Linked DNA regions of Homo sapiens: regions 1, 2 and 3 are each linked to region 4. Evidence: promoter capture Hi-C in 16 types of primary human blood cells and fetal thymus (Javierre and others, 2016). All regions are on one chromosome and are shown on one strand. The core of a region is centred on a gene start or on the middle of the fragment in contact, and the rest is flanking DNA. Distances in the headings are between cores, read along the strand shown.

Region 1 (6,060 bases), core at 1,276-3,775, 140 kb after region 4:
AACCCATTGGAACTAATTTAGCTGCCTCAGCCTGGGAAAAATAAGAAATATTAAATCAACAAAATAATATTCCTTACCACAGTGATCTTGATGGCAAAAAAATATATATAAAGAAAAAAGAAATATTAGTAAAACAAGGTGTGCAATGGGAAGAGAAAATATCAAATAAAATTACCAGGATGATTTCTCTTTAGAAAGTCATAAAAAAGGATAATCTAATTCAGAGATTCCATGAAGATCAATTTTTAAATTGCCAATTCAAGTTAATATATTAATATAGTTTTAAAAACTATTATAGATCCGGCCGGGTGCGATGGCTCACGCCTGTAATCCCAGCACTTTGGAAGGCCAAGGCAGGCGGATCACAACGTCAGGAGATCGAGACCATCCTGGCTAACATGGTGAAACCCCATCTCTACTAAAAAAATACAAAAAATTAGTCGGGCGTGGTGGCGGGTGCCTGAAGTCCCAGCTACTTGGTAGGCTGAGGCAGGAGAAAGGCGTGAACCCGGGAGGCGGAGCTTGCAGTGAGCCGAGATCGCGCCACTGTACTCCAGCCTGGGGGACAGAGCGAGACTCTGTCTCAAAAAACAAAACAAAACAAAACAAAAAACTATTAGAGATCCGTACATATGTGTTTTGCCCAATTTATGACAAAAATGACAATACAGTACACCTTCATTTCCTGCTCCATCAACCGCAGACTGTATCCCTTAACTTCCTACTTTGTAAAAATGAGGACATTTGCCCTTCAATCTTTTCTCTCTCCATGGCTACTTCCCCACCTCTATCAGCTGTACCTTTTCTTTCATATTGTCTGGCTGAGAACATTCACATTCTATTTTGTAATTACAGATAAGTGTTCTGTAATAGCACTATGGGTTGATTCTAAAATTGAAAAGTAAGTGCATTCACAAATATGCAAAAATAAAGCAACACACTCCTAAATAAGCAACAAGTCAAAGAAGAAATGACAAGGGAAATCAGAAAATGTTTTTGCAATGAATGAAAACGAAGATATACCAAAACGTATGGGCTCCAAGAAAAGCAGTGCTTAGAGAGAAATTCATAGCTATAAACAGCTATATTAGAAAAGAAGGCTGGGTGTGGTGAATCACACCTGTAATCCCAGCACTTTGGGAGGCTGAGGTGGGAGGACTGCTGGAAGCCAGGAGTTTGAGACCAGCCTGAGTAACAAAGCAGCACCCTGGCTCTAAAAATGTTTTAAAATTAGCAGGGTGGCTGGGTGTGGTGGCTCACCTCTGTAATCTCAGAACTTTGGGAGGCTGAGGTGGGCAGATCACAAGGTCAGGAGTTCAAGACCAGCCTGACCAACATGGTGAAACTTCCTCTCTACTAAAAATACAAAAATTAGCCGGGCGTGGTGGCACGCGCCTGTAGTCCCAGCTACTCGGGAGGCTGAGGTGGAAGAATCACTTGAATCTGGGAGGCGGAGGTTGCAGTGAGCTGAATTTGCACCACTGCACTCCAGCCTGAGAGACACAGCGAGATTCCATCTCAAAAAAAAAAAAAAAAATTAGTAGGGCATGGCTGGGCATGGTGGCTCATGCCTGAATCCCAGCACTTTGGTAGGGTGAGGTGGGCAGATCACGAAGTCAGGAGTTCAAGACCAGCCTGCCCAATATGGTGAAACCCCATTTCTACTAAAAATACAAAAAATAGCTGGGCGTGGTGGCGTGCGCCTGTAGTCCCAACTACTCAGGAGGCTGAAACAGGAGAACTGCTTGAACCCGGGCGGCGGAGGTTGCAGTGAGCCGAGATCACACCACCGCACTCCAGCCTGGGCAAGAGAGTGAGACTGCATCAGAAAAAAAAAAAAAAAAGGCCTGGCGCGGTGGCTCACGACTGTAATCCCAGCACTTTGGGAGGCTGAGGCAGGCAGATCATGAGGTCAGGAGATCAAGACCATCCTGGCTAACACGGTGAAACCCTGTCTCTACTAAAAATTAGCTGGGCATGGCGGCACGTGCCTGTAATCCCAGCCACTCAGGAGGCTGAGGCAGGAGAATCGCTTGAACCCAAGAGGCAGAGGTTGCAGTGAGCAGAGATCACGCCACTGCACTCCAGCCTGGGCACAGAGGGAGACTCCGTCTCAAAAATAAAATAAAATAAAATAAATAGCAGGGCATGGTGGGGCGTGCCTGTGGTCCTAGTTACCTGGGAGGCTGAGGCAGAAGGTTTGTTTGAGCCAGGAGTTGGAGGCTGCAGTGAGCTATGATCACACCACTGCACTCCAACGTAAGTGACAGAACAAGACTCTGCCTCTAAAAATAAAAAAGATAAATCATAACCTAACCTTCCAAAGAAAAGCAAACAAAACAAAGCAAGCAGAAAGATGGAAATAATACAGGTTAGGGTAGAAACTATTAAGTAGAGGGCAGAATAATAGAGAAAAATCAATGAAACCAAAAGCTGGTTCTTTGAAAATATCAACAAAATTGACAAACTTTTAGCTGCATTGCCCGAGAAAAAAAGAGAAAAGACTCAAATTACTAAAATCAAGAATGAAAGAGGGGACATTACTACTGACTTTATGTAAATAAAAAGTAGTATAAGGAAACCCTGTGAGCATCTCTATGTCAACAAGTTAGGTAACTTAGATGAAATAAGCAAATTCTTAGAAAGATAAACTACCAAAACTCACTCAAGAAGAAAATCTAAATAGACCCATAGAAAGTAAAAAGATTAAACTTTCATAATGTTTAAATTTCCCATGAAGAAAAAAAATCAACAAATAGCTGAAAAATCAATGAAAGTTTATTCTCTAAACTTTTCTATATACTTAATATTTCATTTAAAAATTCATTGCACGGCCAGGTGCAGTGGCTCACGCCTGTAATCCCAGCACTTTGGGATACTGAGATGGGCGGATTACCTGAGGCCAGGATTTTGAGACCAGCCTGGCCAATTCATATACTCACTGTCATTTCAGTGCAACAAACATGTACTAGACACTTACTTCGTATGAAACATAGTCCCAGGGACTCTGAAGGATATGGAGAAAAAGAAGAGCTGATTCCTGCCTCCACAGAGCTTATAACTTAATCAGAAAGATAAACTATACAAAATAACTATAGTACAAGTAGATGTGATGGGTAATATGAGAAGTACTAACAAGCCATGGGAGCTCAAGGAATATAGACTACTTCCTTTGGTGAAAAACAGGAGAATGTATTAGCAAAGACAAAACTGGTAGAAATGGTCAGGCTAGTGGCATGTGCCTATAGTCCCAGCTACTCAGCAGGCTGAGAATTCCTTGAGCCCAGGAGTTTGAAGCTGAAGCTGCAGTGAGCTTTGATCATGCCACTGCACTCCAGCCTGGGCAACAGAGTGAGACTTTTCTTTTTTTTCTTTAAAAAAAAAAAAAAAAGGTGGGCACAGTGGCTAGTGCCTGTAATTTCAGCACTTTGGGAGGCTGAGGTGGGCAGATTGCTTGAGGCCAGGAGTTTGAGACCAGCCTGGGCAACATGGTGAAACCCCGTCTCAACTGAAAATACAAAAATTAGCCACGTGTGGTGGTGGGAGCCTGTAATCCCAGCTACTTGGGAGGCTGAGGCACGACAATCACTTGAACCCGGAAGGCAGAGGTTGCAGTGAGCAGAGCCAAAATTGCACCATTGTGCTCCAGCCTGGGTGACACAGCGACACTCTGCCTCAAAAAAAAACAGAAAACAAACAATACAATCATAATCTTTACTGGCCAGAAACAAAGAACATAAAATATTGAAAAGTAAAGACACGTAAGTCTATACCATATTGCATCTCAAATCATGTATTCTAGGTTTGCATTGTTGTGTTCATAGAAACAGAGAAGTGACTTGATTTCTGAAACCAAGATCTCGCAAGGCAAAAAGAAAAGATCCTGTCAGCATTTGTTCATTCACAAAAACTGATACCCAAAAAGCGAAAACAGAAAGACTTTAGGGACCCCTACTGGCTTAGTCAATATGACAATCTTTTAACAAAAATACTGTTAGGGACTCAGAACCCTTATTTCCAATTAAGCAACCACTTCAGCAAATATTCATTTGAGTAATCCAATAAATTTATCTAACGCTAACAGTAATCGATACGTGAAAATACAATTTTATAAATAAATATTTGCGGTGGGGCGCGGTGGCTCACACCTGTAATCCCAGCACTTTAGGAGGCTGAGGTGGGCAGATCACAAGGTCAGGAGATCGAGACCATCCTGGCCAACGTGGTGAAACCCTGTCTCTAATAAAAATACAAAAATTAGCTGGGTGTGGTGGCACATACCTGTAGTCCCAACTACTCGGGAGGCTGAGGCAGGAGAATCACTTGAACCTGAGAGGCGGAGGGTGCAGTAGACCAAGATCACGCTATTGCACTCCAGCCTGGCAACAGAGCGAGACTCCGTCTCAAAAAAAAAAAAAAAAAAAAAAAAAATCTGCTTTATACTACATAAAACTTCAAGGGTAAAGGCAATAAAACTGTGTAACTATATAAACACTGAAGAAATAGGTTCATAAAACAAAATGTAACCATGGGGAAGTATGTATGTTAAAGAACTATATGAAGCTAGAAAAATAAATAGGCCAGGCACAGTAGCTCACACCTATAATCCAGCACTTTGGGAGGCTGAGGTAGGTGAATCGCCTGAGCTCAGGAGTTCGAGACTACCCCGGCATGGTGGCATGTGCCTGTAGTGTAGTCCCAGCTACTTGGGAGGCTGAGGTGAGAGGATCGCTTGAGCTTGGGAGGTGAAGGTTGCAGTGAGCTGAGATGGCACCACTGCACTCCACCCTGTGTGACAGAGCGAGAACCCGTCTCCAAAAAAAAAAAAAAAGAAAGAAAAAAAAAAGAAAAGAAAAGAAAAGAAGAAAAGAAACAGGTAACAGTCACCCCTGGAAAGGATAATGAGATGACCGAAGAATAAGAGATAGAAGGAAGAAGTCTTTCACTACATTCCCTTTTGTACTATTCCCACTAATGCCTCCCTAGGTTAAGTAAGCAGTACTTACCAGAATTTTATCAGCTTTGGCTTCACTAATTCCCTTAATATTTATTAGCTCCTTCTTTGGCGCATAGGCAACAGCCTCCACAGTATGGAATCCAGCTTCTTCCAATTTCTTCACATCGTTGGCATTTATGCCACACTGCTGCAAATGAAGAAAACCATGGATAAATTTAAGCTTTAGTTCTCTAATCTAACACAGATGTTATGTGTCCTACATACTTCACAGAGGTGCTTGAAGACTTGTAATACAACTGTCCCTTGAAATCCTTGGGGGGGCGGGGGGAGATGGGAAGTTGGTTCCAGGACCCCCAGCAGATAACAAAATCCAACAATGCTCAAGTCCCTTATATAAAATGGCGTATTACCTGCATATAACCTATGTACATCCTCCTGTATACTTTTTTTTGATATGTAGTTGATTGAATTTTTGATACGTAGTTTGTTGAATTTGCTGATACAGAATCCGGAGATACAGAGAGCCTACTGTTATTATATGCAAAAGCTGAAAAATGAGCCCTATATATGAGGTACTTAATAACAAATTAACAACCTTTTCATTATCAAAATCAATAATTTTAAACTAGCACTAAGCCATGTACATTAAAAAGAACTCCTATTAGCAATTGGAATTAAAAAGTAACTCCCAACCTTTTTTTGTGACCCTAAATGATCTCTGAGACCTTGGGCCCTACAAGACCACTTTAAGACAGTGTTGCTCAACACTTTCCACATCAAGCACACATAAAAAACTGTATTTTTACACTATGGTAGGGTAAATAGATAAGGCTGCTCAGAATATAAAGAGCACTATCTTGGCCTGTCAATACTTTTTGTTGAACAATGACCAGAAAGCTCTGCTCTAACAACTGACATTAACAGTGAGGAAAACTACTTTTTGTCAGGGACTTTTATACCTCTTCTCAAAACAAACCACCCAAAGACACCTCTTTCTTCCTATATTCAAGTCAGCTTTGGTTTCATTAGCCACCAAAACCATGACTTCTGGGAAAACATGAGTTAGTAGGTGAATGTGGGTGCATTCAGGGGTTGGGAGAATT
Region 2 (5,790 bases), core at 1,584-4,083, 200 kb after region 4:
ATGCTGAAGCTGCCGATGACAGGACTTGTTAAGAGAGCCTCAAAGACAATGAAAGTATTGAGCTTTTACAATGTATAAGAATTGTGACTGCTATACATAAAGATGAGAAACATCATAAGAGAGAACAAGTTTTTGAATTTTATTTTTGAGCTCGGAGAATATATTTAAATTTATTTATTTAGTTTGCTCTGTTGCACAGGCTGGAGTGCAGTGGTGTGATCTTGCCTCACTGTAGTCTTGACCTCCTGGGCTCAAGAGATCTTCCTGCCTCAGCCTCCCAAGTAGCTAGGACTACAGGTATGTGCCATCACGCTGAGCTAATCTCTTGTTTTTTGTAGAGATAGTGCCTCACTCTGTTGCCCAGGCTGTATTCACAGTTTAAGGTGTTTAAGGATATTTTTTGCATACAGGTTCAGAAGGAAGCTAGAAATTGAGTCTAGAATTCAAGAAAGAGAGGCTAAAGATGCCCTCACCTGAAATGATTATAAGCTACCTTTAGGGCAAAATCTGTGTCTTAAATATTTTTATTTATTTTCTGATACTAAGCACAGTATCTGGCATGCAGTATATGCTCAAAAAATGCTTGAGGAATTTAAATTTGGGAATCAGTCACATAATTATTAAGGCACACGAAAGCACTAGGGGAGAGAATATAGAAAAGAACAGATGATAAAATCTAAATCCCCACAAGGGATCAGTTAGAGAAAGAGAGGCCAACAGAGAAGCTGGATTGAGCAGCCAGGAGAAAACAACTGGGTCAAGATAGTGCATTATCACAGAGATTAAGGGAGATGAACATTTCAGGAAGAAAAGAACAGTCATCAGTGTCAAATGCTGAAAGAGGTCAAAATGGCTAAGGACTGAGAAGAACAAAATTTGATGACTATGCAGAATTATGTGATCTTTGAGAAAGGAGTTTCAGGAGAGTAACTCTAAAAAGTTGGGATTATGAAAGACCAAACTGAAAGGATAGACGGTTTTCAAACTGAGATAAATTCATCTATTAAAAAACACAAAATTACAGTCTGGGTTATCTTGAGCAGCTCTTGATTGTATTATGGATGACTATAGTAAAGGAACTTTAATTTGCTCTAATTTATTTATTTATTTATTTTATTATTATTTTTTTTGAGATGGAGTCTCGCTCTGCCACCCAGGCTGGAGTGCAGTGGCGCAATCTTGGCTCACTGCAACCTGCACATCCTGGGTTCAAACTATTCTCCTGCCTCAGCCTCCCGAGTAGCTGGAGTACAGGCGCCCGTCACCACGCCCAGCTAATTTTAAAATTTTTAGTAGAGATGGGGTTTCACCATGTTGGCCAGGCTGGTCTCAAACTCCTGACCTCAGGTGATCCGCCCGGCTTGGCCTCCCAAAGTGCTGGGATTACAGGCGTGAGCCAATTTACTCTAATTTAATATCTCAAGTTGCTAATACAAGTCTTCAATATCGTGGTACCAACATTCTCTACTGTAGGAGAGCATTTAGATAAAATTAAATTTTCTTTTGGAAAAGTATTTAAAATACTTTACCTGTTTCCATCTCAGTGAGGCAGTTATCGATCTTCTTAAGTATTTTATCCATCTCATCTATCTTTATTTGAAGTTTCTCCCTCTCATTCTAAATACAAAAGATTATAGACTGTCAAGTTAAACCTCTAAAGAAAATATTATAAATGGTTCAAACTGCTCACATAATCGCTCTATCATGATCACAAACAGGCAAATCTTTTTTTTTTTTTTTTTTTTTTGAGGCGGAGTCTCATTCTGTTACCCAGGCTGGAGTGCAGTGGCGCCATCTGGGCTCATTGCAAGCTCCGCCTCCCGGGTTCATGCCATTCTCCTGCCTCAGCCTCCTGATTAGCTGGGACTACAGGTGCCTGCCACCATGCCTGGCTAATTTTTTGTATTTTTAGTAGAGATGGGGTTTCACCGTGTTAGCCAGGATGGTCTCGATCTCCCGACCTCGTGATCCGCCCGCCTTGGCCTCCCAAAGTGCTGGGATTACAGGCGTGAGCCACCGCACCCAGCCTACAAACAGGCAAATCTTAAAATGAAGGTCAAAGCTTTAGGTTGGAACTTAAAAAATAAAAGTAAATTTTATTAAAATAAGTTTTAGCCAAAAGAACTCTGGAAAATAAAATGTTTATTTTATAAATTTAATAAAATATTTTATTAAAAGAAAATGAAATAATTTAAAAAGCATATTGACATAAAACTAATTCTGGTACTTTATTTTAGCATTTCTATAGGTGTTCCATGGAATACAATATATTAATATTTATTACTTAAAAACATTTCTATGATAAACTAAACATAGGAAACAGTGGTCAAAAAGAATTACAGCATTTATGCTTAGACTTTAAAAAATTATGTTTCTCTGAAAGGGCATATTGCTTGCAACATTTCCCATACTTACTTGCCAATGGAAAGTTTTTTTATGCAGAGCCTTTTAAAAAAGCTAATCATTTTGGGAAATGCTACTTTAAACACATGTGCATACATATACAGCTTAGTATGGACTATGAAGAAGATAATACTATGGTATAGTCCTTAGCAATGGGAGACCAGAATCCTATGTATTTTATTTCAGTATGTATGATGGATAATAGTATTTGAGATGAGACATAGGCCCACATTAGTAATTATATTCCAGTATTACTCAAGATGTCAGGATTTGCCACTTTTGACAAATTGAACCTTACCTCTTAATTGTTAAGTTTTTGCCCAAGTCTTATTCACATGTCTTCTAAGGAAGATTCTTCATATTCTATAACCATTAGAAAGTAATTTTAATATCTCTCTCTTTCTATGATATTAACTGTCTCAAATTACCTGAGCTGACTGCACCAGCTTGCCATACAGAGCCACTTTTCCTTGGTGAGTGAAGACTTTAGTCATCTTGGTAAAACATGACTTTATTTTGTTAAGATAAATTCCAAAGGCCTTCAGCTGGAAGGGAAAGTTATAGAGAACACTGTACTAAAACAAACGAGTCAGAAGAGGTAAATGGTCTAGGAAGGCTAGGCTTTGCCTATCCTAAGGCAGGATATTTGTCATTTGCAAATTTAATTCCATGTAATTGTCTAAGACCAGAAAAAAGATTTCAGTTTTGATTCCTGCCTTTAATTCACTTATTCATATTATAAATTAGAAAATGACAGGCTCTTAGTTAATGAAACTTTTTAATATATTAGGGCACATATAAAATGGGTTGCTTGCTATTTAATCAATTAAAGTAAATCTTTTCTTCGTCTAAATCTAAGTGAAAGGCAAATAGCAAGGAGGGAACTCTAAATAAACTTCAACTATATTTCATATATTAAATTGATCATCTCAGGTTTGAAAAGATTATATATTAACAATTGTGTGTAATTAAATAAGACCTTGGTACCACATTACACTTAAAAAATAAGTTAAATAACTCATCACTATGACCAAGTAACAGTTACTCATTTCACAATAAACATCGTTCAGAATGTCTTCACTGATTCTCATTCAGAAAATGAGACAAAAGTACCTCTTTGTCAGAGCAGTGTCTCATTTTTTCCCACAGGTTCTTATTTATATCAACCAACAGCTTATCTTGGTTCGATGCAGAAAGCTTTAATCTAAAATACGGAAAAGTTAATTAGCACTGTAGGGAAAAGAAAGAGATCAGACTGTTACTGTGTCTATGTAGAAAGGAAAGACGTAAGAGACTCCATTTGGAAAAAGACCTGTACTTTGAACAACTGTTTTGCTGAGATGTTGTTAATTTGTAGCTTTGCCCCAACCACTTTGCCCCAGCCACTTTGACCCAACCTGAAGCTCACAAAAACATGTGTTGTATGAAATCAAAGTTTAAGGGATCTAGGGCTGTGCAGGACGTGCCTTGTTGACAAAATGTTTACAAGCAGTATACTTGGTAAAAGTCATCGCTATTCTCTAGTCTCAATAAACCAGGGGCACAATGCACTGCGGAAAGCCGCAGGGACCTCTGCCCTTGAAAGCGGGGTATTGTCCAAGGTTTCTCCCCATGTGATAGTCTGAAATATGGCCTCGTGGGATGAGAAAGACCTGACTGTCCCCCAGCCCGACACCCGTAAATGGTCTGTGCTGAGGTGGATTAGTAAAAGACGAAAGCCTCTTGCAGTTGAGATAGAGGAAGGCCACTGTCTCCTGCCTGCCCATGGGAACTGAATGTCTTTGTATAAAACTCGATTGTACATTTGTTCGATTCTGAGATAGGAGAAAAACCGCCCTATGGTGGGAGGCGAGACATGTTTGCAGCAATGCTGCCTTGTTATTCTTTACTCCACTGAGATGTTTGAGTGGAGAGAAACATAAATCTGGCTTAGGTGTACATCCAGTCACCATACCTTCTCTTAAACTTAACTATGACGTAGATTCTATTGCTTACATGTTTTTGTCCTTATTATCACCCTGCTCTCCTACTACATTCCTTCTTGCTGAAATAATGAAGATAATAATCAATAAAAACTGAGGGAACTCAGAGACCGGTGCCAGTGCAGGTCCTTGGTATGCTGAGAGCCGGTCCCCTGGGCCCACTGTTGTTTCTCTATACTTTGTCTCTGTGTCTTATTTCTTTTCTCAGTCTCTCGTCCCATCCGACTAGAAATACCCACAAGTGTGGAGGGGCAGGCCACCTCTTCAAGCGTAGGGTTCAGAAGCCAGCTTGAATGAACCAGCTCAGGTCTACAATCATGTTTAATTTAACTCTTCCTAGTTTTTTTCTACATAATAAGAGGGGAATTCATTCAAGAAAAGCCTGATTATTCACTTGAAGAATAGTAGTTCAAGAATGTCATACATCAAAAAAACTTCTATCACTAACAGAATTCTCATCTCAACGTACCAACTTGTTCCAATGTGAAACATTTCGCTTATAAAGAATCCTAAGGTCTGTCAATGATCGCTGCTATAAAGTTGTAGCTATTATTATTTTATTTTTTTGAGACGGAGTCTCACCCTGTTGCCAGGCTGCCAGGCTGGAGTGCAGTGGCGCAATCTTGGCTCACTGCAATCTCCACCTTCTGGGTTCAAGCAATTCTCTTGCCTTAGCCTCCCGAGTAGCTAGGACTACAGGCGCGTGCCACCACGCCCAGCTAATTTTTTTATGTATTATTTTAATAAAAGTTCCCGGCCAGGCGCGGTGGTTCACGCCTGTAATCCCAGGACTTTGGGAGGCTAAGGCAGGTGGATCACGGGGGTCAGGAGATCGAGACCATCCTGGCTAATACGGTGAAACCTCGTCTCTATTAAAAATAGAAAAAATTAGCCAGGCATGGTGGCGGGTGCCTGTAGTAGTAGAGGTTGAGGCAGGAGAATGGCGTCAACCCAGGAGGCAGAGTTCTCAGTAAGCCGAGATCGCGCCTGGGTGACAGAGTGAGGCTCTGTCTCAAAAATAAAAATAAAAAATAAAATAAAAGTTTCCAATTCAGTTCAAAGGCATATTTCACATTTTTAGAATAGCATCTATAAAAGCAGCAAAGTTATGATAGTCTCAATATATATTAGTCTTTTGTTAATAAATGGAGAAAATAAATTTCTAACAGAGATAGAATATCTCTTGTAGAGGATATATGCAGGCATACAGATGCAAAATCAAACAGTAAAGCACAACTAAACCTACCGCTCATTGAGTGTAAGATCCCGTTTCATTCAAAATAAACATTCTCAGCTGGTGTGGTGGTTCACGCCTGTAATCCCAGCACTTTGGGAGGCCGAGGTGGGTAGATCACTTGAGGTCAGGAGTTCAGGACCAGCCTGGCCAACATGGTGAAACCCCATC
Region 3 (5,893 bases), core at 1-2,500, 220 kb after region 4:
GTATTTCTATTAGTTATTTGTTTATCAAGAACTCCACCACAGTAGACTATATTATGGCTTGTTGCTATCTCCTGATTACAATCAGCTGACTGAGGAGAATCTTTATCAAGGTAGGGCAAAATCTTCAAAACCCAATCTTTGTCTTTGTTCCAGGTGTCGGTTAAGCTGTTTTTGGCTATTATGTCTGATCGCTGAAATGGTTCATTACGACTTTTGGTAATTTCTTCACATTCATCTGAAGAGCTTTTGCTCTGAGAGTGAGATTCACTGGTACTCTCCGGTGCTAGATTATAAGCTGCAAGAGGAACCTGACTTCCTAAGTTACTTGTGTGACTTTCAGTCAAATCCATATTTTCACCTGATAAGAGTTCAGTCTTTCTATCAGTCAATGAAATAGACAAAGGATTTGACAGGCTCTGCTGTATTCTTTCCTTAGATACATGAGGAACTGAGTTACAATTTACATTCATTTTCCCATCTTCTGATGTGGTCATAAGATTTTGGAGCATCATTTCTTTTTCGGGTGTTGGTGCAGCTGCTATTTGCACATTTGATTGATCTTGTTTAAAAATTTGATTATCTATTGCAACTGTATGACTCTTGGTAATGTCCATGTTCTCCTCTCCGGAATAAATAGTTTTCTCTGTGAGAGAAGACATAGCATCTGGATTGCAATACATTTTAGCATAATTACTGTCATGCTTTAGCAAATTTTTCTCCTCTCTCATATTTGAGAGACATTTGGTCATTTCCATGGCATCATTACAACTAGAATAGAAAACAGTCTTACAACCTTGAATAGATGGATTAGAATATATAGATTCTGGGGTCATGGCTAATATTCTGGCATCCTGATTACAAGTCTGTGAGACTATGTGAGTTTCTGCCCCCATAATATGACTTCTGGTAATATGTATTTTGTCTGCAGAGTTTATGGAAAGGTCTTGAAAAGCAGTATTTTGTTTACTCTTAAAAACTGTTTTATTTCCTGAAGCTTTAGTTCCATAACCTGTTGTTACATCCATGGCATTCTGAGTTTGATTTTCTATTTCAGAAAAATTACCTGTTGCAGGTAAGATCTGCAAAGTGTGGTTAAATGTCAAGTCCATAAAGTCATTGCCATAAATTGTAATATCATTACCTTTAGATTCCCGTGAGTTGGTCTCACTGGATGTGGGAATCAATGTCTGAATATTGGCTGTATGACACTGGGTGAAATTCATCCCATCATCTTTTTCTCTAAAGAGCCTAGTAATATTACTGTTATTTTCATCTTCCTTAAGAGATACATGCATTTGATGTGTAGAAGAGGCACTGTTCGGTTCCTTGGAATAAATAGGTATCTCAAAATTTTCTTTATCAGGCACATCAGGAAAAGCACTACATTTTCCTGTTTTCAATCTTTTTATGAAGTCATTGAAATCTATTTTATTTTCTGAAGAAGTGTTTTGATCCACGGAAAAATTTACTTCTTTTTTCATTCTTGAGTCCTCGGTGTGAAGCTTTAAATTAGCTAGAAATGATGTGGTATCTATCTTGGTGGACTTTTCACTTATGGGATTATCTAAAAGGCCTTTGGTAATCATTACAGTGTGACTTGATGTCAGGTCCATCTGGTTTTCATCTGAAAAAATGACTGTCTGGTCATTTGCATGTTTCCTTTCACGGGTATGTTCTATAATTGAAAACTATAATGAAAGCAAAATATAAGAGATCAGAACAAAAGCAAACTTTTAAAAAGGCATTTTACAACATGTATTATATAAAAAATCCTCAGTGATGGTTTCATAACACGTTGGTTTGCTTGAATCAATGGTGTAGCATGTTGCATATAATTTGTCATTAAAAATTATTCTTGGGAAGCCGAGGTGGGTGGATCACGAGGGCAGGAGATCGAGACCATCCTGGCTAACATGGTGAAACCCCGTCTCTACTAAAAAATACAAAAAAGAAAATAAGCCAGGCATGGTGGCGGGCACCTGTAGTCCCAGCTACTCGGGAGGCTGAGGCAGGAGAATGGTGTGAACCTGGGAGGCGGAGCTTGCAGCGAGCTGAGATTGCACCACTGCCTGGGCAACAGAGCAAGACTCTGTCTCAAAAAAAAAAAAAAATTATTCTAGGCTAGGCACAGTGGCTCACGCCTGTAATCCAAGCACTTTGGAAGGCTGAGGCAGGGGGATTGCCTGAAGCCAGGAGTAACAAAGTAAGATCCTGTCTCTACAAAAAATTATAAAAATTAGGCACAGTGGTGCATGCCTGTTGTCCTAGCTACTAGGAAGGCTGAGGTGGGAGGACTGCTCGAGTCCAGGAGTTTGAGCTGTCATAGGCTAGGATCACACCATTGCACTCCAACTTCGGCAACAGAGTAATACCCAATCTATTAGGAAAAGAAAAAGAAATCTAAAGTCTGCGAGTAATTTACTTTTTAGTGTTTTGGGACAAATTAAAAATTCAAGGTTAATTATACACCCACTAGAATGACTAAAAAATTAAAAACACTGACAGCACCAAATGTAAACATGACAAAAATTCTAATTACTATATTGAATAGGTCATTCTTATCCTAAATTTTAAAAGTCTAGGAAAGACATAAGCCCATGATGGCTAATCTATATTACATTCTAGACTGGGCTTGGTGGCTCACACTTGTAATCCCAGCACTTTGAGAAGCCAAGGCAGAAAGATCCCTTGAGCCCAGGAGTTCAAGACCAGCCTGGGCAACAGAGTGAGACCTTGTCTCTACAAAAAAATGAACAAAATTAGCTAGGCATGGTGGCATGCACCTGTAGTCCCAGCCACTCAGGAGGCTGAGGTGGGAGGATCGCTTCAGCCCAGAAGATTGAGGCTGCAATGAGCCAAGATTGTGCCACTGCACTCCAGCCTGGGCAACAGTGTAAGACTGTGTCTAACAACAACCAAAAAAAATCCTTCTTGTAGGAGATAGCCTAAAATATATATATATATATATATATTACACTGTGTGCTACAACAGTTTTCTCAGTGAGGACACAGATTAACTCTTTGCTACTGAAAGTATGGCCTATGGACTTGTGTACTAGTATCACTAAGGAAATAGAAATAAAGACTCATGTGCTCTTTAAACTTTGAGAGGTACTGGTATACTGTATCTCCCATTACTTAAACTGGCTGTGACTTAACTATCCTTAAGTTAACTGGAAAGGTAGGAAGCCTTTCCAGTTTATGCTGATTCATTTTTTTAAGTCATCCCTAAACTATGCCATTATCATTGAATTGTGTTTTCTGTTTTAACAATCAAATGACATTACAATATGAAGGTATTTGCATGAACTCATACCTCCTTCTGTTGCATCTGGGTATGAATGGGAGCAGAAAGCAATGTGTTCATCCCTATTTAGAAAAAAGAAAAAACTGTAGTCAGAAAATATAACACTGAGCCTGATTTTCCTTTTCTTAGGTTCTTCATCAGTTACAAGTATTTACTAGAATTTACCAGTAACTAAGCCCTTAAGAACTTACGTATTAAATTTTTTTAATTTTTTAAAAATTGATACATCATTGTTGTACATATTTTTGTGTTACATGTGATATTTTGATACTTGTATACATTGTGTAATGATCAAATCAGGGTAACTGGAATATCCACCACCTCAAACATTTATCTTTTGTGTTGGGAACATATAAAATTTCATAAGACTTAATTATCCTATGTTAGTGACAGAGAGACCAATAATTATTGTATCCTCTGTGTGGCTGAAATATTTTTATAATGTGGTGGTGATTTTAAAGATGGAAAGTTTGGACTACTACTTATTATTATTATTATTATTCACTTCTCTATTTTTATTTCCTGGATAGTAGAAGTCCCATGGAGAAGAGTATCAAATGATGAGACTGAAAGGTTAGGGTAGGATTCTGAAGGGTCTTTTATTCTATGTTAAGGAATCTAGATATTCCCATGATAAGACACATGTGCTTTATAAAAATAATCCCATTATAAAATATAATGCATTTTAGAAAAATAGTAAAAAGTAATAAGGAGAAGTTGATTCAAGAGAAGATAAACCAATAAGGAAGTTACTACAATAGTTCAGATTAACGCAAGAGGTCATGTTAGGGCAACAGAGCAATGAAAATGGAAATAAAGGATTAGACTCAAGACTTATTTTAGAACTACAAATCAGACTTTGTAAATAAGGAAGGGATTCAAAAGGCTATATTAAAACAGGAAATACATTTAAAAATACTTACATTTAAAGTTTAAAGGCAAATCTTTAGAACACATTAAAGAATGTATGACGAGCTTGAGTACATATAATGAAATAATTATAAGCTTTTTTTTTTTTTTTTTTTTTTTTTTTTTTTTTTTTTTTACTAAAAGCCTTATTTATATTTCAGGCTTCCATTCATTTTTTCAACAAATGTTGGTTCAGAACCTATTACATGAAAAAACAAAACAAACAAACGAACACACCTCAAATGTCTACTAAGGTATAAAGAAGAACAAGACAAAATTTCTGAATTTCTGGACTCTCAGAGATGGTAGTTCAGGCTATTCTGAGCACACTGCCTATGGGGTAGCTGTGCTCCTCAAGGAGGAGTATCTCCCACCGCCTGCAAAAAAAGTTTGGCCTCTTTAATAAGACAGCCAGAAATACTTAAAGTACAATGTGATAAATTCTAAAATATACTGAAAAATAAAAGAGGTGTTATGGGAGCACAGAACATCTGACTAACTCCTTAGTTTTGCCAGAGAGGGTTCCATTTAAGCCAGTGCTACTTGAAGTATGGTGCCAGACTGTGAACTGCTTGTTACCTATTCATAACGAGATAAGGAGCTGGCGGCAAACATAAATCATATAATAATAATTGCTAGGAAAAAAGTGTAAACTAAACTAAACTGTGGCTTAATGCCACAGTTAAGGCACATTATGGTACAAATTCCTTTTCTGTCATGGACTGAGCAGTTAGTTTGTGGACTGGACACTTTGGATAGCACTGAAGTTAAACTAAGTGAAGTGAAAAATGAGAAGCCTGATAGGCAAACTGGAGTAGAAAGATCACTTTAGATAGAGAAAATAGCATTTATAAATGCATATAGGGGCTGAGTGCGGAGGCTCACGCCTGTAATCCAAGCACTCTGGAGGCCAAGGCGGTGGATCATCTGAGGTCAGGAGTTTGAGACCAGCCTGGCCAACATGGTGAAACCCCATCTCTACTAAAAATACAAAAATCAGCTCGGCCTGGTGGCACGTGCCTGTAATCCCAGCTACTCGGGAGGCTGAGGCAGGAAAATCGCTTGAACCTGGGAGGCGGAGGTTGCAGTGAGCCAAGATCGCACCACCTCACTTCAGCCTGGGTGACAGAGTGAGACTCCGTCTCAAAAAAATAAAATGAAATAAAATGAAAAATAAATGCATATAGGCAGAAAAAGAGTTTATATAGTGAACTGCAAATAATTCATCATGGGCTAGAGCATGGGATACCTATATAATGGGTAGGAGATAAGTTTGGAGAAGAAAACAGGCCAAGTGATAAAGGACATTCTAACTCATTGCTAAGGAGTATGGGCTTTATTCTGTAAGCAAAACAGTGTCATTGAACCATTTTAAGCTGGGAGGTAACATAATCAAATTTAGAAATATGGAGAATGGATTGGAAGGATAAGAAATGAAATACAGTAGCCCAAGAAAAAATAATAACAACTTGAATTAAAGCAGTCACAGAAGGAATACAGAATAGGTAACGATTTTCAAGACATTTAGGAGACAAAACAGAAAGTAGGCCAAATGGCCATTAGACATAAAGGAAGAATTGAAAATGACTTCTTGATTCCTGACTTCAGTGAATGACTGAATGAGTGGGAGTCCAAGACAGAGAAAACAGGAGAAACAGCAGGTTTGAAAGAAGTAAC
Region 4 (5,384 bases), core at 2,272-4,771:
ATAGGACTGGGGAGGAGGAGAGGTGGGGGAAGAGAAGGGGAGAAGAGGAAGTGCAAGCTGCTCCGCCTCCAGCTGCAGGAATCTGTACTGGCCTGGCCTGGCCACAGGCAGAAGGAGGAACAAACAAACCCATTCTGGGGAGCATTTATCTATGCAATAGGAGAATCAAAGGTTTGGAAGCTCTCAGTGCCCGTGACCCACGTCACCCAACCCACCTCATCCACCCTAGCCCTTAATGGCTCTACCCTGTCATTACCCACCTCCAACCTCTCTAACTGGACCCAGGTGAGAATAAACCCCTTGACACACACACAGCTTTTTCCTCTTCCCAAAGCACTGCAGCACTCTAAGAATGGCCTAGAATGGCCTGGAGCTCATACTAAGTCCAAGCCCTACCTGCCTCCCTCAATGTCCCAGGAAATCCCCACTCCACCCTCTCTTGTGGCAAACAGGCAGGTCCTGGGGGTTTCCAGATGAGGATGGCTGGTCTCAAGACCATGGGGCCATAGTCCAGCTAAGCTCCCTGACCAGACTCCAGAATTTCACACTCTGGCTCTGGAGAGGGACTCCCATGGGGCCTCTGTGGAGCAGGAAGGGCATGAGCAACTCAGGTCAGTAAGAGTCATCACCACCTACACTTTCTGCTACTTCCTTGTGGAACAGGCTGCAGCCCTGGTTCAGTGGGACTTGGTGGCCCAGACTGGCCCTCAGATATGTCCCCCTCCCATCCACAGGAATCCCCATCTCGCCTCTCCTCAGAGACCCAGGAGAGCTACTGGAAGGATAGGGAGGAAAGAGGACCCTCCTTAGCCTGGCAGAGAGACTAGCCCAGGAAAAGTCTGCGGAGGAAAGCCCTTTCTCCACTTTCCAGAACGGAGACCACCCCCAGATGTGGCCCCAGCCCAGTTCTGGCCCCCAAACTCCCCAATCCCCGGTTCTGTTATCCACTGGGCTATTTTGGGTCAGAATGCTAGGTTTTTACCAGAGAGATGGTCTTGTGTGAAAAACAGCACAGGACTTTTTTTGGAGGTCTCCCCTGGGGTGAATCTCAGGCCTACCATTTATGGGCAGTGTTACCCTGGGCAAATTCTTTAACATGGGAGTCTTAGTTTCCTAATCTAAAAAGTGGGATGACTGCTAGTAGCACCCTTTTTGGAAGTTGTTGTGATGAGGCCTGAGTGAGAGGATGTGTGGCACAGCAATCAGTAAGCTGTAAAGTGCTCACAGAGGTTATGAGAGGTGACCTACCCCTGCCCTGGAGCCCCACCTGGCCAGAACAGCAGGTAGAGAGAAAGGGGGAACCAAGGCTCTGGACTGGCCCTGATCCCAGCAGACAGTTCAGTCCGGGGAAGAAAGAGGAGGAGCCCTGGCCTCCGCTTTGCCTTTATCTATGGAAGTAAACAAGGTTTGGCTACCAGATTCTAAGCAGGGAGAGCCCTGTCTGGCTCATGCGCATGCACACACACCTGCCTGGACAGCTGACATCCCTTCCCTACTAGGTATACATACCAACAGGCTGACTCACCCCACAACCCTCCTCATCCCCCACCCCAGAGCCTCTAGGCTTCTGTGCCTACAACATCACTTCTCTCCCTTTGGATCAACCGCAGACTGGGCTTGTTTTCTAGTCTCGGATCTGGCAGTCTTCCTGGACCACCAAAAGGCCAATGCATTCCTAGGGGGTAGAGAGATGCTAAGCAGTCCCAAGTCCAGCCAGTGGAGGAGACTATGGCCAGGCTCACCTGACAGGGCATCGGTGTGCCCAGACCAGTGCTTGGCCAAGGTGCCTTTCTAGTCACCAGACCATCCAGACAGCTCACTCCTTCAATCAGCCTATCAGTGCCAGAGGTCAGGAGTCCTGGGGACTTCCTCTCCCCTCCAGTACACACAGCCCAGAGCCAAAGGCCTCCCTGTGAGCACCAGCCCATCACCTCTGAACATCCTGAGTTCAGGAGCCAGAGCCTGGGCCCTGCCCTCCCTACTCATGTCCCCTTTCATTTGTTTACTGTTTGTACTGCCTACTACCGATGTGAAGGCGATCTGGCTGTGACATCTGTCACCCCATTGATCACCAGGCTTGATTCGGCTGTACTGCCTACTTCTAAGGAGGGCTTCAGGTAGAAATAATCCCAGCACTTTGGGAGGCCAAGGTGGGTGGATCACCTGAGTTCAGAAGTTCAAGACCAGCCTGGCCAACATAGTGAAACCCCGTCTGTACCAAAAAAAAAAAAAAAAAAAAAAAAAAAAAAATTAGCCGGGTCTGGTAGCGGGTGCCTGTAGTTCCAGCTACTCCGGAGGCTGAGACAGAAGAATCACTTGAACGTGGAAGACGGAGGTTGCAGTGAGCAACCAGAGATTGCGCCATTGCACTCCAGCCTGGGCGACAAGAGCGAGACTCCGTCGCAAAAAAAAAGAAAGAAAAAGAAAAAAAAAAGTGAACTCTCCTTAACTCCTCTCTGATGTTCGTCTCCCCTAGGACCCCATAACCAGTCCCTTTTTTGAGTCTCTCCAAACCCATCCATCTTGGCACCCTCCTCACCTCCAAAGCCCTGGGTCCGCAGCTGGCGGTAGGAGCGGTACACTTCCCTCGTGAGGTAGTTGATGAAGCCCTCCCTGGGCGCGAACTTGCACACGAAGTTCTGCTCGTAGAGGCAGTTGATGAGGAAGCAGGCGGCGATGGCGTCCTCCCCGCGGTCGGGCTGCAGCTCCACTAGCGCCAAGTTGCAGTTCTGGGTGGTGCAGCAGGCGCGCACGCAGTCCCAGCCCCGGCGCACGGTGGGGGACTCCAGGAAGGTAGCTCCGTTGCTGACCGAGGCGTTGGTGTCCAGCACGAAGCCAGGCACCCCGGCGGTAAAGCTGTTCAGGCAGTCGGCTCCCGCGGGCAGCCCAGGGGGCGCGGGCGGTGGCCCGGCCTGGGTGCCCTGGAGGCCGAGCGTGCACAGAAGCCACAAGGCGACGGCAGGGATGCCGGCCGGGGCGAGGCGGGCGCGGGCCATCGTCCTCGCAGGGGCCATCGCCTTCCTCCCCAGGGGGGTCACCTTCAGAGCGCGGGCCTCTGGGTTCCGAGGGTGCTGGTGACCTGAGAAGAAGGGAGGGGACAGAGGAGGAGACACACCTGATCAGCCCGGGAGACTTTGGAGGAGGCGGGCCGGCCGGGAGGAAGTGGCGGGGAGGAGGGACCGGAGCACCCCAGGATCGAAGAGGGCGCACGGGCCCGGCCCTCCCACGCGCCCTCCAGGGACCCGGCAGCCAGACAGACGGACAGGCGGACCGCTAGGGAGCTCAAGTACCCGGACACACGCACGAGCGCAGAACAAAGGGCCGGACATGCTCCAGCCCGCTCCGCCTGCGCCTCGGCCTTGCGCGCGGGGGCCCGGGTTACCTGCGCAGGTGAGTTGGGTGGGGCCGGGTCCGCCGAGGTTCCGGTCCCAGCTTCCTGCGCGGCTCGGGTCGCGGCTTCCGACCCGGTGCTCGGAGAGCTGGGGCTCGGCCGCCTTCTCCCCCTGGTTTCTGGTGAAACTGAGTCAGCGCCGTCGGGGCGGGGCCGACATTCACCCTTGCGCTGCCGGCCCCGCCCACGCCCGGTGCGCTGCGGCCGCCTCTAGCGCGGAGCTCCAGGCCCGGCCCGCCCCGCGGCCCCGCAGCCCCGGTGCCTCCCCGGCAGCCAGCTCCCCGGAGGGGCTCTCGGGCTCCACCCAGTCCAGCCTCGCGAGGGAGCCCCGCGCCCGAAGCGCATACCCAGCCGGGAGGGGATGCGGCCGGGACGCGAGGGTCCGGCCTCTGGGGCGGCGGCCTCCAGTCTTCCTTTCCGGCCGGGGCCTGCTTTCCCAGCCCCAGACCTGAGGCCCGATGCAAATGATCTTTCCGGCCCTCAGGAAATCATTTCCATTTCGTGGCGGGAAGGTAACCCAAAAGTTGCGTGGCTGCACCTGTGATAACAGGGATCCGGGATGTCTGCCTCACTGTCAGCTCCGGGAAGCCCTCCCTGCTGTCAGGGTGAGAAACGGAGGCGATTCCCCGCGTCCAGGCTCCCCTGCGTGCTCCACGGGGCTTCCCTGTTGTTCGAGGCCCCTCCTCATCTTGTATGTACAGTTCGGTCCATTCCCTGCTATGGCTCATTGGACTGTTGCCCCCTTCCCTGGAGCCCAGGCTTCCTCTCTTTCACAAAGGGGACGCTGCTGGCTACTTTCTTCCAGGGAAATGTCATCCTTGGAAGCCTGGAGGTTCCAGTTCACCAAGTAGCTGAGTTAATGCCCTTCACGAAACAGTGGACTCCTTGAAGCCAAGCTCATTGCTCCTCCTGAGTAAAAAACTCTTAAGAGACCATTCTCTACGGCAAGGGTCTGAACAGGTGAAAGACAGATGAAGGCAGGGCTGGAGGAAGGAATCACATAGCATGCTCTCTTAAAATACAGATTCCAAACCTTTTCCTGATGGCTTAACAACCCCCAAACCAATGGGAACATTCTTCCCAGTTTCTCATCCAGAGCAGCTTTGCCTAGCAGATCCTGTGGCCAACCCTTGGATTTTGCTGAACTGCAACATCCTCCAGCTGCTCACATGATGCGTGTTGGGGTGGGAATCTGGGGCCTGTCTCCCCTTCTCTGGATGTTTAGGGTTTATCCACAGACCCTGGCACACTGGTGGATATACAACAATGGTGGTATGCTGGGAATGAAGAAAATGATTGTGCAGTCACTGGGAAGAAAGGGTTTTGTTGTGATTTGATTTCCCCTTATGGCTAACACATTCAAGAATCTTTATTTATTTATTTATTTATTTTTTTTTTTTTTTTTTTGAGACGGAGTCTTGCTCTGTCACCCAGGCTGGAGTGCAATGGCACGATCTCGGCTCACTGCAACCTCTGCCTTCCAGATTCAGGAAATTCTGCCTCAGCCTCCCAAGTAGCTGGGCTTACAGGTGGGCACCACCACGCCGAGCTAATTTTTGTATTTTTAGTAGAAACGAGGTTTCACCTTTTTGGCCAGGCTGGTCTTGAACTCCTGACCTCAGGTGATCCACCCACCTCGGCCTCCCAAAGTGCTAGGATTATAGGCGTGAGCCACTGTGCCTGACCTCAAGAATCTTAATACAGGAAAATATTACCTTATGGTAATATTACATCACCATAAATTTATCATTACATCCATTATACACACCATTATAAAAACCAACATGAATTCAGCACTGACAATGCCCAAACTCTGTTCCTAAGCACTGCCCACATATTACCCTATACTCAAAACAAACCTAGGGAGGTAGTATTTTTAGCCCCATTTTACAAATGAGCAAACAGGCTCAGACAGGTAAACTGACTTGTCAGGTCATTCAGCATTGAAGCGGCAGAGTAGGGATTGGAGCCCAGGCAGGCCAATTCCATGGCT

The links. Contacts are between HindIII fragments. The CHiCAGO score rates a contact against its expected background, and 5 or more counts as called.
Region 1: a contact is called between a fragment that was not itself captured here and the fragment with the promoter of SPINT1 in region 4, in 3 of 17 cell types (M0 macrophages, M2 macrophages and endothelial precursors). The highest score is 5.6, in M0 macrophages.
Region 2: a fragment that was not itself captured here is called in contact with the fragment with the promoter of SPINT1 in region 4 in 1 of 17 cell types (M1 macrophages); the score reaches 5.4 in M1 macrophages.
Region 3: a contact is called between a fragment that was not itself captured here and the fragment with the promoter of SPINT1 in region 4, in 1 of 17 cell types (M1 macrophages). The highest score is 5.0, in M1 macrophages.

The regions. Positions count from the first base shown.
Region 1 is chr15:40,700,148-40,706,207 of GRCh38, reverse strand. It overlaps RAD51 (RAD51 recombinase), which reads right to left. Exons shown (of 10, transcript NM_002875.5): 3 at 5,007-5,144; 4 at 1-31. Among named protein-coding and RNA genes, the nearest start is that of RAD51, 8.0 kb to the right of the region's middle. The HindIII fragment of the contact is 5,309 bases long and covers 1-5,179 here.
Region 2 is chr15:40,642,814-40,648,603 of GRCh38, reverse strand. KNL1 (kinetochore scaffold 1) reads right to left here. Exons shown (of 26, transcript NM_144508.5): 15 at 3,517-3,607; 16 at 2,832-2,948; 17 at 1,530-1,617. Among named protein-coding and RNA genes, the nearest start is that of RAD51-AS1, 49 kb to the left of the region's middle. The HindIII fragment of the contact is 1,538 bases long and covers 2,065-3,602 here.
Region 3 is chr15:40,616,435-40,622,327 of GRCh38, reverse strand. KNL1 (kinetochore scaffold 1) reads right to left here. Exons shown (of 26, transcript NM_144508.5): 9 at 3,317-3,369; 10 at 1-1,688. Among named protein-coding and RNA genes, the nearest start is that of KNL1, 25 kb to the right of the region's middle. The HindIII fragment of the contact is 508 bases long and covers 997-1,504 here.
Region 4 is chr15:40,842,185-40,847,568 of GRCh38, reverse strand. It overlaps SPINT1 (serine peptidase inhibitor, Kunitz type 1), which reads right to left and starts at 3,521. Exons shown (of 11, transcript NM_003710.4): 1 at 3,383-3,521; 2 at 2,540-3,079. The coding sequence starts at 3,014. It overlaps SPINT1-AS1 (SPINT1 antisense RNA 1), which reads left to right and starts at 3,045. Exons shown (of 2, transcript NR_146468.1): 1 at 3,045-3,390. RefSeq lists silencers at 2,840-3,079, 3,370-3,429, 3,510-3,739, 3,901-4,083 and an enhancer at 3,377-3,948. The HindIII fragment of the contact is 21,246 bases long and covers 1-5,384 here.